Regions from separate parts of the Homo sapiens genome. Here regions 2 and 3 are each linked to region 1. The links are contacts of gene promoters, found by promoter capture Hi-C in human tissues and cell types (Jung and others, 2019). All regions are on one chromosome and are shown on one strand. Each heading gives the region's core, a stretch centred on a gene start or on the middle of the fragment in contact. The rest is flanking DNA. Distances are from core to core; before and after follow the strand shown. Region 1 holds the start of C15orf61 (chromosome 15 open reading frame 61). Region 2 overlaps PIAS1 (protein inhibitor of activated STAT 1). Region 3 overlaps PIAS1 (protein inhibitor of activated STAT 1).

Region 1 (4,197 bases), core at 495-2,994:
GGCTGGTCTCGGACTCCTGACCTCAGATGATCCACTGGCCTCGGCCTCCCAAAGTGCTGGGATTACAGGCGTGAGCCACCGTGCCCGGCCTAAAGCATAAGTTTTAACCAACTTTATATGTTGGGGACCTTCAACAGATTTCGTTTGAAAAAGGACTCCACTCTTTTTCAAAATTTAATTTGGTCAGGTGCAGAAGCTCACACCTGTAATCCCACCACTTTGGGAGGCCGAGGCGGGCGGATCACTTGAGCCCAAGTGTTCAAGACCAGCCTGGGCAACATGGCAAAATTCCACCTCTACAAAAAATACCAAAAAAAGCAGCCGAGTGTAGGTGGCACACACCTGCAGTCCCAGCTACTTGGGAGGCTGAGGGTGGGAGGATCTCTTGAGCCCAGGAGGCAGAAGTTGCAGTGAGCCGAGATCGAGCAGCTGCACTCCAGCCTAGACAACAGTGAGATCCTTTCTAAAAAAAAGAAAAGAAAAAGAAATTCTATAAAGTTCAAGTTCTATAAGGTAAAGTTCAACTTCAAATTCTGTAAGGTAAAGTTCAAGATTCGGCATATGTTGGTGGGTGCTCAATGTTCAATAAAAACTGGGGAATAGGCCTGGTGCAGTGGCTCACGCCTGTAATCCCAGCACTTTGGGAGGCCGAGGCAGGTGGATCACGAGGTCATGAGTTTGAGACCAGCCTGGCCAACATGGTGAAACCCCGTCTCTATTAAAAATACAAAAATTAGCCAGGCGTGGTGGTGCACGCCTGTAATCCCAGCCACTCGGGAGGCTGAGGCAGGAAAATCACTTGAACCTGGGAGGCAGAGGTTGCAGTGAGCTGAGATTGCACCACTGCACTCCAGCCTGGGCAACAGAGTGAGACTCCGTCTCAAAAAAACAAAACAAAACAAAACAAAAAACTGGGGAATATAAAATTTCGCCATACTATCCTACATCCCCCTTGAGTTTTTAGCAACGATAGTAATTGTTATATGATGCTTAACGCGTAATTACTGTACCTCATTTACATAAGGTGGTTTCAGACACATCATCTTGTTTATGTATGGCCTCTCCAAACAAAATGAGTTTAGGACAAAAGAGGAAATCCTTTTCTAAAAGCAGTTTTGTCCGTAAGTTACTGCCTCAAGAGGCCGCAAAGTTTGAGCAAAGCTTTTCCGAAAGTAATGGATTGGTAATGGGTGACTGAGGTCCACAAAGCTCGATAAGAGGCTCCTGGTCCGTCTACCAGGTTCTTAGAGGGAGGTGCCTTTGTGTGTTCGGACGCTGCACTGAGACACGTGAGGTTTTTAAATAAACTTTTGATTTTGAAATCTCTGGGACTAATTTTAAACAGTGAACCCGACAGCGAGGACCTACACACAAAAGTGCTCCCGGCCTTACCAAACAACGCAGACCCGGGGTCACGCCTCGTCCTGTTTCAACAACAACACCCAAGGGCTTCCCTGGAGCCCAGGGCGTGGGAGGGAGACTTGGGTTTGAGTTCTGCACCTTGCGGAGGTGGTTAGTTATTTAATTGTCTTCCACCTGAATTTTCCTCAGGCCCAAATTGATGAGACCTCCCCGAATCCCTCCCCTGCCCGAGTTACTAATGACGGCGTGAGGTCACACCTGGCCACTCAAAACCAGCTCCTTGACGCAGGTGACCCTCCGCCTCGCGCAGCTCACGCTTCCCATCCCCCGGACTCCACCCCCAGCGGGAGGCCACGGGGCCGCTGTGCGCACGCGCCGCCGCACACCGGGGGCTCTCGGGCACCCGCGCGGCGCCGGTTGGCCTTCCCGGCGCTCGCCCGGGGGCGCGCTTGCGCGCCAGCGGCTGCGGACACCAGCCTGCGTCCCCGGCGCGGCGGGCCATGGAGGCCCTGAGGAGGGCCCACGAGGTCGCGCTCCGCCTGCTGCTGTGTAGGCCGTGGGCCTCGCGCGCCGCCGCCCGCCCCAAGCCCAGCGCCTCGGAGGTGCTGACGCGGCATCTGCTGCAGCGGCGCCTGCCGCACTGGACCTCCTTCTGCGTGCCCTACAGCGCCGTCCGCAACGACCAGTTCGGCCTCTCGCACTTCAACTGGCCGGTGCAGGGCGCCAACTACCACGTCCTGCGCACCGGCTGCTTCCCCTTCATCAAGTACCACTGCTCCAAGGCTCCCTGGCAGGACCTGGCCCGGCAGAACCGCTTCTTCACGGCGCTCAAGGTCGTCAACCTCGGTGAGTGGCGACTGCCGCGCCCACGCGGTGAAGCCCGCCCGGCCGGGACGGCCCCTCAGCCACCGAGCACGTGACGAACGCTCGCAGGCCGGTAGAGTCCCGCGGGAGTCAGCTCTGCCTCCCGGCGCCGGCTTCGCCTGGGGTCCTTTGTACTCCTCGCCCAGGGGGTCCCCAGCTTGCTGAGCTCCTGGCACCCGAAGCCGTTCGCCTGCTGCGGGCGCGTCCTCGGGCCTAGGGAGGGGCGGGTCGCCCTCCTGTCCTGCCCATGTTAACCAGAGTAGACCCCTGGCCTGGGCAGTAAGCCAGGGGGCGTCAGGAAACGCCCCCTAGAAAGTGGCTCTGAAGTTGACATCCGTCCTACTGCATGGCAGGACTCATTCCCGTGAACATCACTTTGCAGCTGCGTTTATGTTGCAATAACTGGAACTACTCTTTTAAGTTTCTTTTGTTTTCTTTGTATGAATTCCCGGCAAGTTCGTTTTACTAAAAGCACCAAAGGTTTTCACCAGACATAACAGCTTCCTGAGGTGCTAGGCCTAAAAGATTTTTAAAGATCTTTAATATTTGTATATTTTCATGGAGACGCCCTGAGGATGTTTACTGTCACTAGGTGTTTATTTTCTTTTGGTTTAATGACAGAAGAGGGAGGTACGAACATGGACATGGGTGTATCTTTTATAGGTCAGGGGAAAACAGAAGGCCTCAAGATGTTTTGAACTTACTAATAGCTGGCATAAAATCAATCTAGATTTCAGTGATTCAAAATCTAGCCATGGAGCTGAATGAACCATGTTACCCAGCCAGGTTTTTAAAGCCAGGATTAAAACTAAACCCTGCGCAGCCGTACTACTAATACTATTACATAATCTGATCGTCCATTAAGGTTAAAAATAGTCTGTGTATTTGTGCTTATAATAACACATATGTCAGTCGTGGGCTTTTTGAGCCGTTACTCCACTGGACTGTCCTGTAAGGAGATAATTGTTTAGCAACGTGTTATCCTTTAAAAATGCCTCTTATTATTTGGCTGATGGACTGTATAGAGCATGCCCACTACTTTGGAGGTTGGTTGAAGTTGAAGGGTGAGGTGACTTAGGAAATTCAATTCGAAATTATTTGGAAAGACTGGAGTGTTAACTAGATTCGAGAAGTATAAGTTTATTTTAGCATTTTTCATAAGTAAGAAATCATTCTTCCCTAAAGAATAATAGGTTAGGAAAAGCATAACGGGAGAGTTATAGGTAAACCATGAGCCAAATGCCTTTTTTTCCTTTAAAGTCACATTTTTAGTGTTGACATTTTGTTTAAGAGCACCTTAATGATTAGGGGCCTCTCTTTTAGATTTAGAGATTAAGACATCCAAAAAAAGTGGATACTCAGAACATTCCACACATAGAAAAGTAAAACCTTTTAAAGTTGAAAGAAACAACAGTTGTAGTGTTTTTTGTTTTGTTTTGTTTATTAATGTGGGAGAGTGATTTAATGGTCTGTATGGTCTTTTGGACATTCTAAAAATCCTGCTAAAATGGGAGTAAGAGTTCTAAGTTAAGCAAAAAGGACAACTTTTTGCTCATGCATGCTTTAATACAAATTGGGATATACTGATAAAGGGAATTAAAAAATATTTTAAAGTGGTGAACACATCTGGTAACGTTTATTTTTAATTTTTGTCTGAAGGTAGAGGGGATGTGAATTAGATAATAGGTCCTTTCCTATTCTGTGAGGTACAATCGTCTCTCTGGGTGATAAAGTACATATCCTATTAATATTATACTTAGGATTTTGTTCCTCTTCTTCCCTTCCAAATTCATTTTTCCATTTTGTAAATAATAAAGATTTCTGTTTACCCATTTGCTCCTTTTCTCCTCCGTCTTCCCTTCAATGGAAGCTGACATTTTACTGATGGTTTACCAGTCTAGGTATCCTGCTGAGAAGTAGATTGAGATTTAAGAAAAGCAACTTACCATTGGAATGAATGAGATTTACTGA
Region 2 (4,197 bases), core at 805-3,304, 660 kb after region 1:
AGCAGAACTACTCCTTCTTATGTAATAGTAGCCAGTTTGCAGGCACTCAAACCTCTTCTCCCCTCATGCCACTGCAGTCTGTCAGTTGAATCTGATAGCAAATGAGCAAATTTAAGAAAGAAAAATCAGTACTACAACTTACTTAACCTAACTCTTTCAACTTCAAACTTTCTCACCTGCAAAATGAGGGCAAAACTAATTACATACCTCATGAAGTGCTTGTGAGGAGTAACTTAGAGCAGATTGAAAGTTTCCTTAAGAGGAGTCCAGAGCATTTGTTAAAAGTACTATGCCCGTTTAAGGATCAGTGTTAGATCTGACAGAGTAGTAATGGCCCCAGTCCCCCAAATGGGGTCACGGAGAAGACAAATCATTGCCAAAGCTTAGTTTTCAGCCTTAGTAATCTAAAGAAAGGAGAGACGTAAAACGTTTAGCTCAACTCTTCATGTTTAAATAAAATTCTGAGTGACATAGCATATAAGACTTGTATTTGTTTTTGAAGTATTGGGGCATTTGGAAGAGTTTTTCCTTCTTTTTTTTTTAAACTGAAATAATTTTTTCTTCCACAGGATTAGATTTCTTTCCTTTCTTATCAGGAGACAATCAGGTATGTTATGAAAAATTTACTATTATTTTAATTGTACATTAAAAATACAGTCATGCGCCACATAATGACATTTTGGTCAATGACAGGCCATATATGCATTCCATAAGATTATAATGGAGCTGAAAAATCCCTACATCAATTATAGCCATGGTAACATTGTAGCACAAGGCATTACTCACATGTTTGTGGTGTTGCTGGTGTGAACAAACCTATGCTGTCAGTCATGTAAAAGTATCACACGTATAATTATGTACAATATAACGATAATAAACAACTCTGTTACTGGTTTATGCATTTACTATATTTTTTATTGTTATTTTAGAGTGTACCTCTACTTTTTTTTTTTTTAAGTTTGCTGTAAAACAGTGTGCCATGTTATTCCAGGACAGCCTCATACATCCCAGTTTGCCACATCTCTTGATTGCATCATTTCCTCTTGTGCTTGATGAAAATCTTGTCTTGTTTTGTTCATCATGGCCCCTAAGCATACAAAATCCACAGCTAATGTTGCCAGTAAGAGGCCACATCGAGTGACTGACATGGAAAAAAATTAAGTGATTAAGGACGATGAAAGTGGAAGATCAGTGATAGTTATTGCTCACCAGTCAGGCAGTCCCATTCTACCATAGCTACAGTCTTAAAGAACAAGAACAAAGTGATAGAAGCTGTTAAAGGATCTGCTTTGTTCAAGGCAACAAGACTAACAAAAATTTGAGAAGGGCCTGTATCAGATATGGAGAAACTTGTTAGTGACCTGGATTGAAGACCAGACACAGAAACATATCCCTCTCAGCACCATAATGATCATGGCCAAAGCAAAAAGTTTGTTTGCAATGCTTAAAGAAAAGACTGGACCCAACTACAGTGTTAAATGTACTGCTAGCTCCGGGTGGTTTAAACGATTGAAGAATCATTATTCATTATGTAATATCAAAGTGAGTGGAGAGTCTGCAAATGCAGATGTGAAGGCAACTGAAGAATTTTTGGAAACTCTAGATAAGCTGATTATGAAGGAAGATTACTTGCCAGACAAATTTTCAATACGCATGAAACCTCCCTATTCTGGAAATAAATGGCTGAAAGGACTTTCATCCATAAAGAAGCCAAGTCAATGCTAGATTTCAAGGCTTTTAAGGACAAGATAACAGTCTTGCTTGGGGCCATATTGCAGGCTACAAATTGAAACCCTTTGTGATCTGGCACAGTGAGAACTCCAGAGCCTTCAAGCATGTCAGCAAGCACACACTGCCCGTGTACTACAGGAGCAATAAGAAGTCATCGATGACCCAGCTTTTCTTCCAGGATGTCCTCCCGAATTGCTGTGCCAGCAAAATGGAGAAGTACTGTTGAGAGAGTAACATACTTTTCAAGATGATGATTTTTGTTGATAATGCTCCCACACATCCTCATTTCATTGGTGATCTTCATCCCAATATCAAAGTGTTGTGTCTCCTTCCATATACCACCTCTTTGATCCAACCAATGAATCAAGGAGTTGTAGCAGTTTTTAAGGCCTATTAAAAGATCCTAAGGAGGATCTTTGCCCAGGCTATTGCTGCAACTGAAAAACACCGAGAGGACACTGATGCAATTCTGGAAGGTTTACAACAGCTATGACTGCATCAAGAACCTTGCTTGGGCATGGACTGATGTCACCAAGGAGTATGTGAATGACATCTAGAAGACACTGAAGAAGTTTGTTCATGACTTCAAAGAATCTGCTAAGGATGAAGAGGTTGCAGAAATGGACAAGGCTGTGGTTGACATGGCAAACAACTTTAACCTAGATGTAGATGAGGATGACATTGAGAAGCTCCTAGATGTGGTTCCTGAGGAATTGACTAATGAGCTGTTGGAACTGGAACAGGAACACGCAGCTGAAGAAGGTGCAAGAGAAAAGGAAACTGCAGGAGACAAAAAGGAAGAACCTCCAAGAAAATTCACAGTGAAAGGTTTAGCAGAAGCTTTTGCAGACCTCAACAAGCTCCTTAAAAAATTTAAAAACATGGGCCCTGGCTGGGCGCTGTGGCTTACACCTATAATCCCAGCACTTTGGGAGGCCAAAGCGGGTAGATCATGAGGTCAGGAGTTCGAGACCAGCCTGACCAACATGGTGAAACCCCGTCTCTACTAAAAATACAAAAATTAGCTGGGCGTGGTGCTACACGCCTGTAATCCCAGCTACTCGGGAGGCTGAGGCAGAAGAATCACTTGAACCTGGGAGGCGGAGGTTGCAGTGAGCCGAGATTGCGTGCACCACTCTACTCCAACCTGGGTGGCAGAGCGAGACTCCATCTCAAAAACAAAACAAACAAAAAAAACATGGGCCCTAACAATGAAAGGTTTTCATTAATAGAGAGGAATGTTTATGGTACATTATCTACTTACAAGCAAACCTATGATAAAAAAGAAACCAAGCCAAACACCATGGACATATTTCTGAAAAGAGTGACACCTCCTTAAGAAGAGCCTCAGGCAGGTCCTTCAGTGGGTGTTCCAGAAGATTGTTGTCATAGCAAATGACAGCTCCATGCATGCTATTTTCCCTGAAGACCATGCAGTGGGACAAGCTGTGCAGATGGAAGACAGTGACATCGATGACCCTGACCTCCCTGTGTAGGCCTAGGCTAATGTGTTGTGTGTGTCATTTTTAACAAAAAAGTTAAAAAGTAAAAAATATTTTAAAATGTTAAAAATAGAGACTTACAGAATAAGGATATAAAGAAGGAAATATTTTTGTTCAGCTGTACAATGTACTTGTGTTTTAAATTAAGTGTTACAAGAGTCAAAGTTTTAAAAAATCAGTTTATAAAGTAAAATTAGTTAGCTAATGTTAATTTATTATTGAAGAAAGAAAAATATTTTTAACACATTTAGTGTGGCCATAGTGTACAGTGTTTATAAAGTCTACAGTAGTGTACAATAATGTCCTAAGCCTCACATTCACTCACCATTCACTCACTGGCTCACCCAGAGCAACTTCCAGTACTGCAGGCTCCATTCATGGTAAGTGCCCTATACAGGTGTATCATTTTTTTATCTTTTATACCATATTTTTACTGTACCTTTTCTATGTTGAGATATACACATACTTAGCATTGTGTTACAGTTGCCTACGGCATTCAGCACAGTAACATGCTGTACAGGTTTGTAGCCTGGGAGCAGTAGGCCAGACCACACAGCCTAGGTGTGTAGCAGGCTCTACTGTCTAGGTTTGTGCAAGCACACTGTGATGTTTGCACAGCCACAAAACCGCCTAATGATGCATTTCTCAAAACACATCCGTGTCATTAAGCGACGCATGACTGTATTTAAAAGTATAATGTGTAGCCAAGAGAAAGATAAATTTCCTTGGAAAACTTAGAGTAATCATACCCATTATCATTATGGCTTTAAAATTTAAATAAAAATTCTAACTTTCAGTGGTGCCTGAGTGTATAATAAGAACAGTGTCTGTTGGTTTCCAGTACTGTTTTATAAAGAAACAGGGCAGTGAGTCATATTGACTGATAGATTTCTTGGCTAAGTATCTCCTTACTAGCAAGAGCATGGACTGTCTGCCCCTCCTGCTGCTTCTGAGCATATGCTTC
Region 3 (4,197 bases), core at 984-3,483, 610 kb after region 1:
TACAGTGTATTACTATTTTTTAGAGACAGGGTCTCTCTGTCACTCTGGCTGGAATGCAGTGGTACGATCATTTTTCACTGTAACCTCGAACTACAGGGCTCAAGCAGCCCTTCCCACCTCACCCTCCTGAGTAACTAGGACTGTAGGCACATACCACCACACCTGGCTGATATTTTAAAGTTATTTTTTGTAGAGACAGGGTCTCACTATATTGCCCAGGCTGCTCTCAAATTCCTGGCCTCAAGTGATCCTTCTGCCTCAGCCACCCAAAGCACTGGGTTGACAGACCTGAGCCACTGCACCTGGCCCAGTTACTTTTCAAGTGTCTGCAATATTTATAAAGCTATATATATACTTGACCGTAAACATAATAGCTAATTCAAAACAGCAGAAACTATAAAAGTTGTTGTTGTGAGTATACTAAAACAAAGATTTTTAAAATGACATTAAAAAAATAAATTATGAAAATAAGGCATTAATGAAAAGCCAAAAGAAAACACTGCATGCTTTTATGATTTAAAAAGATGAAGAACCAAGAATTTAGTATAAAATTTAAGAAAAATAGAAGTAGTATATTAAAGATAAAGGTAAAAATTATTTTTAAATTGTGTTTATATAGTGGATACTTTGCAGACATTGAAGTGGATTAGATAATTTATGTATATGTTGAAATGAAAACATGTCCTCAAAACTTAAAATCTTAATGAAAAAGCAGATTGCAAAATAATTGTATTTACACACACACACACACACACACACACACACACACACACACACTCTTACATAGATTTATGTGTGCTTATAAGTCCCTATAGTTGTATACCAAATTTTTCATAATGTTCAGGGGTTTTCTTCATCCTGTAGGGAAGCAGCTAGATTATGGGGTAGACTTTTATTTTGTAATCTCTTGTGGTTTTAATTTTTGTTTTTTACAGTGAGTATTGCATATTTTCTATAATTGGAAATAAAAAAGATATGTTCATTTTGAGGGGGGGAAGCAATATTTCACCATACGAAACTAGAAAAAATAGTTTATTACGCATTGCATGCCTGTATCAAAATATTTCATATACCCCATAAATATATACACCTGTATACCCACAAAAATTAAAAATAAAGATTTTTTAAAAATAGGAAAAAAGGTGGAATTAATAAATAAACCTTAAAAGAAAAAGGCTTATGAAAGAGGCAAAATATATAAGCTTCTTGCAGATCTGATTAAACAAAATCAACCATAGAAAGTAGATTTAAATCACATAGAAGAAATATATGTATATAAATATTAGGAGCAATACATTTACACAGTTATATGTTAATAAATTTCAGAAACCTCTATGAAGTTTCCAGATATATTAAACATTCCAAATGTTTTTTTCTACATGTATATGCAGTGAAAATAATGTATAAAATGTGATATACTGATAACTTGACAATATTATCAAAGAACTACTTTTTAAAAAAAGAAAAACTCTGGGTTTGATACATTTGCTGGTAAATTCTTCAGAACTTTTTTTGAGGAATAAACAATTTCTGTATACTACAAAATGTTCTCAGTTATTAAAAAGTAAGCAGGCCAAAGAGGAATACAAAGAAACAAAGGTAACACTTAAAAAAAAAAAAAAAAAGCTATCATTCAGTTTCACTTTTTGAATATAGTTGTGTTCCTTAAAATATTAACTGGTAGAATTTATCAGAATATTGGAGGAATAATAAGATTTAAATTAGGCTAAGTCTACTGGACTAAAACCTTGATAGAGATATATATCCTCTATCCAGAAGTCATAAATAGTTCAGTATTAAGAAATATATTAATTCATCAGATGTAATAATAGCTAACATTTATTGACTGCTTACTTTGGGTTAGGTAGGCACTGTTATAAGCGGTTTTATATTTTTATTTAGTTATCAAAATAATTCTAAGGTTTCTCTAGGGTTATATTACCTAGATGAAGAAATTGAAGCATGGAAATGTCAGACAGTGTGCCCAAGGTCACACAATTACTGAATGACAGAACTGGGGTAAGCACGCGGACTTCTGACTCCAAGAATCCATTAGCTTATTTGGAGTTTAAATAGAAACTTTAAAAGGTTTCATAAAATTAAATGCCCATTAATAATTTTTTTAAAAAGAAGTAGAAAAAGTGTTCTTTAACATTATAGGGAATCTTTATAGTCAACAGACAGCTTTATATTTATTTATTGAAAAATTATAGATGTATATATTTATGGGGCACAGAGTGATGTTACGATCTTCGACTACCATGTGAAATGCTTAAATCAACTAATGTATCAAGCTGATATGTTAATCAATTTCCACAACTATTTTACATTTTTTAGGTGATGAGAACATTTGAAATTTACTCTTAGCAATTTTAAAATGTTACTAGCTATGTTCACTGTGTTGTGCAATAAGATCTTATTAAAAAAAAAACTTATTTCTCCTATCTTCTAACCATATCTGGTAACCACCATTCTACTCTTTGTTTCTATGAGTTTGATTGTTTTAGATTCCACATATAAGTGAGAGCATGCAGTATTTGTCTTTCTGTATTTGGCTAATTTCACTTAATAAGCATAGTATTGTCTAATTCCATTCATGTTTGTCACAAATGACAGAATCTCTCTCTGTTTTAAGGCTGAATGCTTTTCCATTATGTATACTTATTTAGGACCACATTTTCTTTATCCATTCATCTGTTGATGAACACTTAGGTTGATTCCGTACTTGGTATTTTGAATAGTGCTGCAATGAACATGGGAGTGTAGACATCTCTTTGACATACTGTTTTCGAATCTTTTGGGTAAATACCTAGAAGTGGGATTGCTGGGTATTTATTTATTAGTTTAAAAAAAAAATCCTAGGCTGGGCGTGGTGGCTCATACCTGTAATCCCAGCACTTTGGGAAGCCAAGGCAAGTGGATTGTCTGAGTTCAGGAGTTTGAGACCAGCCTGGGCAATGTGGCAAAACCTCCTCTAAAAAAAAAAAAAAAGAAAAGAAAAGAAAAAAAGAAAGAAGAACCCTAGAGGTAGTTACTAATAATGGAGGTGCATCAGAATTATTCCCAGTGGGGGCTAAACTCCCAGACATGTATGTTTTGAAGCAGCTTTGTGGGTGATTGTTAAAAACTACAGTGTTGGCCGGGCATGGTGGCTCACACCTGTAATCCCAGCACTTTGGGAGGCTGAGGCGGGCGGATCACGAGGTCAGGAGATTGAGATCATCCTTGCTAACACGGTGATACTCCGTCTCTACTAAAAATACAAAAAATCAGGGCGTGGTGGCCCTCACCTGTAGTCTCAGCTACTCGGGAGGCTGAGGCAGGAGAATCACTTGAACCTGGGAGGTGGAGGTTGCAGTGAGCCGAGATGGCACCACTGCACTCCAGCCTGGGTGACAGAGTGAGACTCTGTCTCTAAAAAAAAAAGGAAACTACAATGTTAAAGGTACATCAAATTTTACAGCAAAGAAGTCACCCTGGAAGATCTACAAATATTCTTGTAAAAGTTCTGGCCTATACAATAAGACATGAATTAGAACTAGAGGTATAAATGTTAGAAAGGAAAATTAAATTTTTCCTTACTTATGGTTAAGGGAAGGTTTATCTGCAAATCCTAAGGAATTGGCTATAAAACTAGGGTTAAGTTCAATTTGAGTGGCAAAATAGAGCTTAGAAGAACAAAAACCGAAATTATGTAATAACCACTTTGAATAACAACCAAAGTGAGAGTCCACGCAAAATATAAATATTAAAAAGTTAGAAATACTCATTTTTGCTCAGTTTTATCTTTTGAATTTGATTTAAACGTAAAAATTAACTAGAAAACTATTAAAATTCTTCCTATTTCTTATCCCATTCTCTGTCTCTCATAGGTAATCATTTTTAATTAATTTCAGTTTATCCTTCTGGTTTTCTTTTCTTTTCTTTTTTTTTTTCCGAAAAAAGCCAGTAGCTTTATGTATTATTACTTCCTCTCTTACACAGAAAGTAGTAGCATACTGTATTTTTTTAATATTGTCGTTGTCACTTTAATGATGTATCTTAGAGAGATCACTCCCATACCAACACATAGAAATCATCTTCATTCTTTCTTTGGTTTTAGGGTATTCTATGAATGTTTATTCAATCATTCTTCTATTGGTAGGTATTTTACTAAGAATGACATTAATGGGAACAGTGTAACTAATCTATGATAGA

The links. Contacts are between HindIII fragments. The study calls those that stand out against the background at their distance.
Region 2: a contact is called between a fragment that was not itself captured here and the fragment with the promoter of C15orf61 in region 1, in 1 of the 25 tissues and cell types used here (lymphoblastoid cells).
Region 3: a fragment that was not itself captured here is called in contact with the fragment with the promoter of C15orf61 in region 1 in 1 of the 25 tissues and cell types used here (mesenchymal stem cells).

Annotation. Positions count from the first base shown.
Region 1 is chr15:67,519,387-67,523,583 of GRCh38, forward strand. It overlaps C15orf61 (chromosome 15 open reading frame 61), which reads left to right and starts at 1,745. Exons shown (of 2, transcript NM_001143936.2): 1 at 1,745-2,208. The coding sequence starts at 1,863. It overlaps IQCH-AS1 (IQCH antisense RNA 1), which reads right to left and starts at 2,458. Exons shown (of 6, transcript NR_040052.1): 1 at 2,133-2,458. RefSeq lists enhancers at 1,332-1,411, 2,052-2,171 and a silencer at 1,592-1,941. The HindIII fragment of the contact is 11,118 bases long and covers 1-4,197 here.
Region 2 is chr15:68,183,061-68,187,257 of GRCh38, forward strand. It overlaps PIAS1 (protein inhibitor of activated STAT 1), which reads left to right. Exons shown (of 14, transcript NM_016166.3): 13 at 570-607. It overlaps LOC105370871 (a long non-coding RNA gene), which reads right to left. Exons shown (of 2, transcript XR_932396.3): 1 at 208-4,197; 2 at 1-91. Among named protein-coding and RNA genes, the nearest start is that of CALML4, 20 kb to the right of the region's middle. The HindIII fragment of the contact is 6,521 bases long and covers 1-4,197 here.
Region 3 is chr15:68,129,060-68,133,256 of GRCh38, forward strand. All of the region lies in intron 2 of PIAS1 (protein inhibitor of activated STAT 1), which reads left to right. Among named protein-coding and RNA genes, the nearest start is that of CALML4, 74 kb to the right of the region's middle. The HindIII fragment of the contact is 5,073 bases long and covers 1-4,197 here.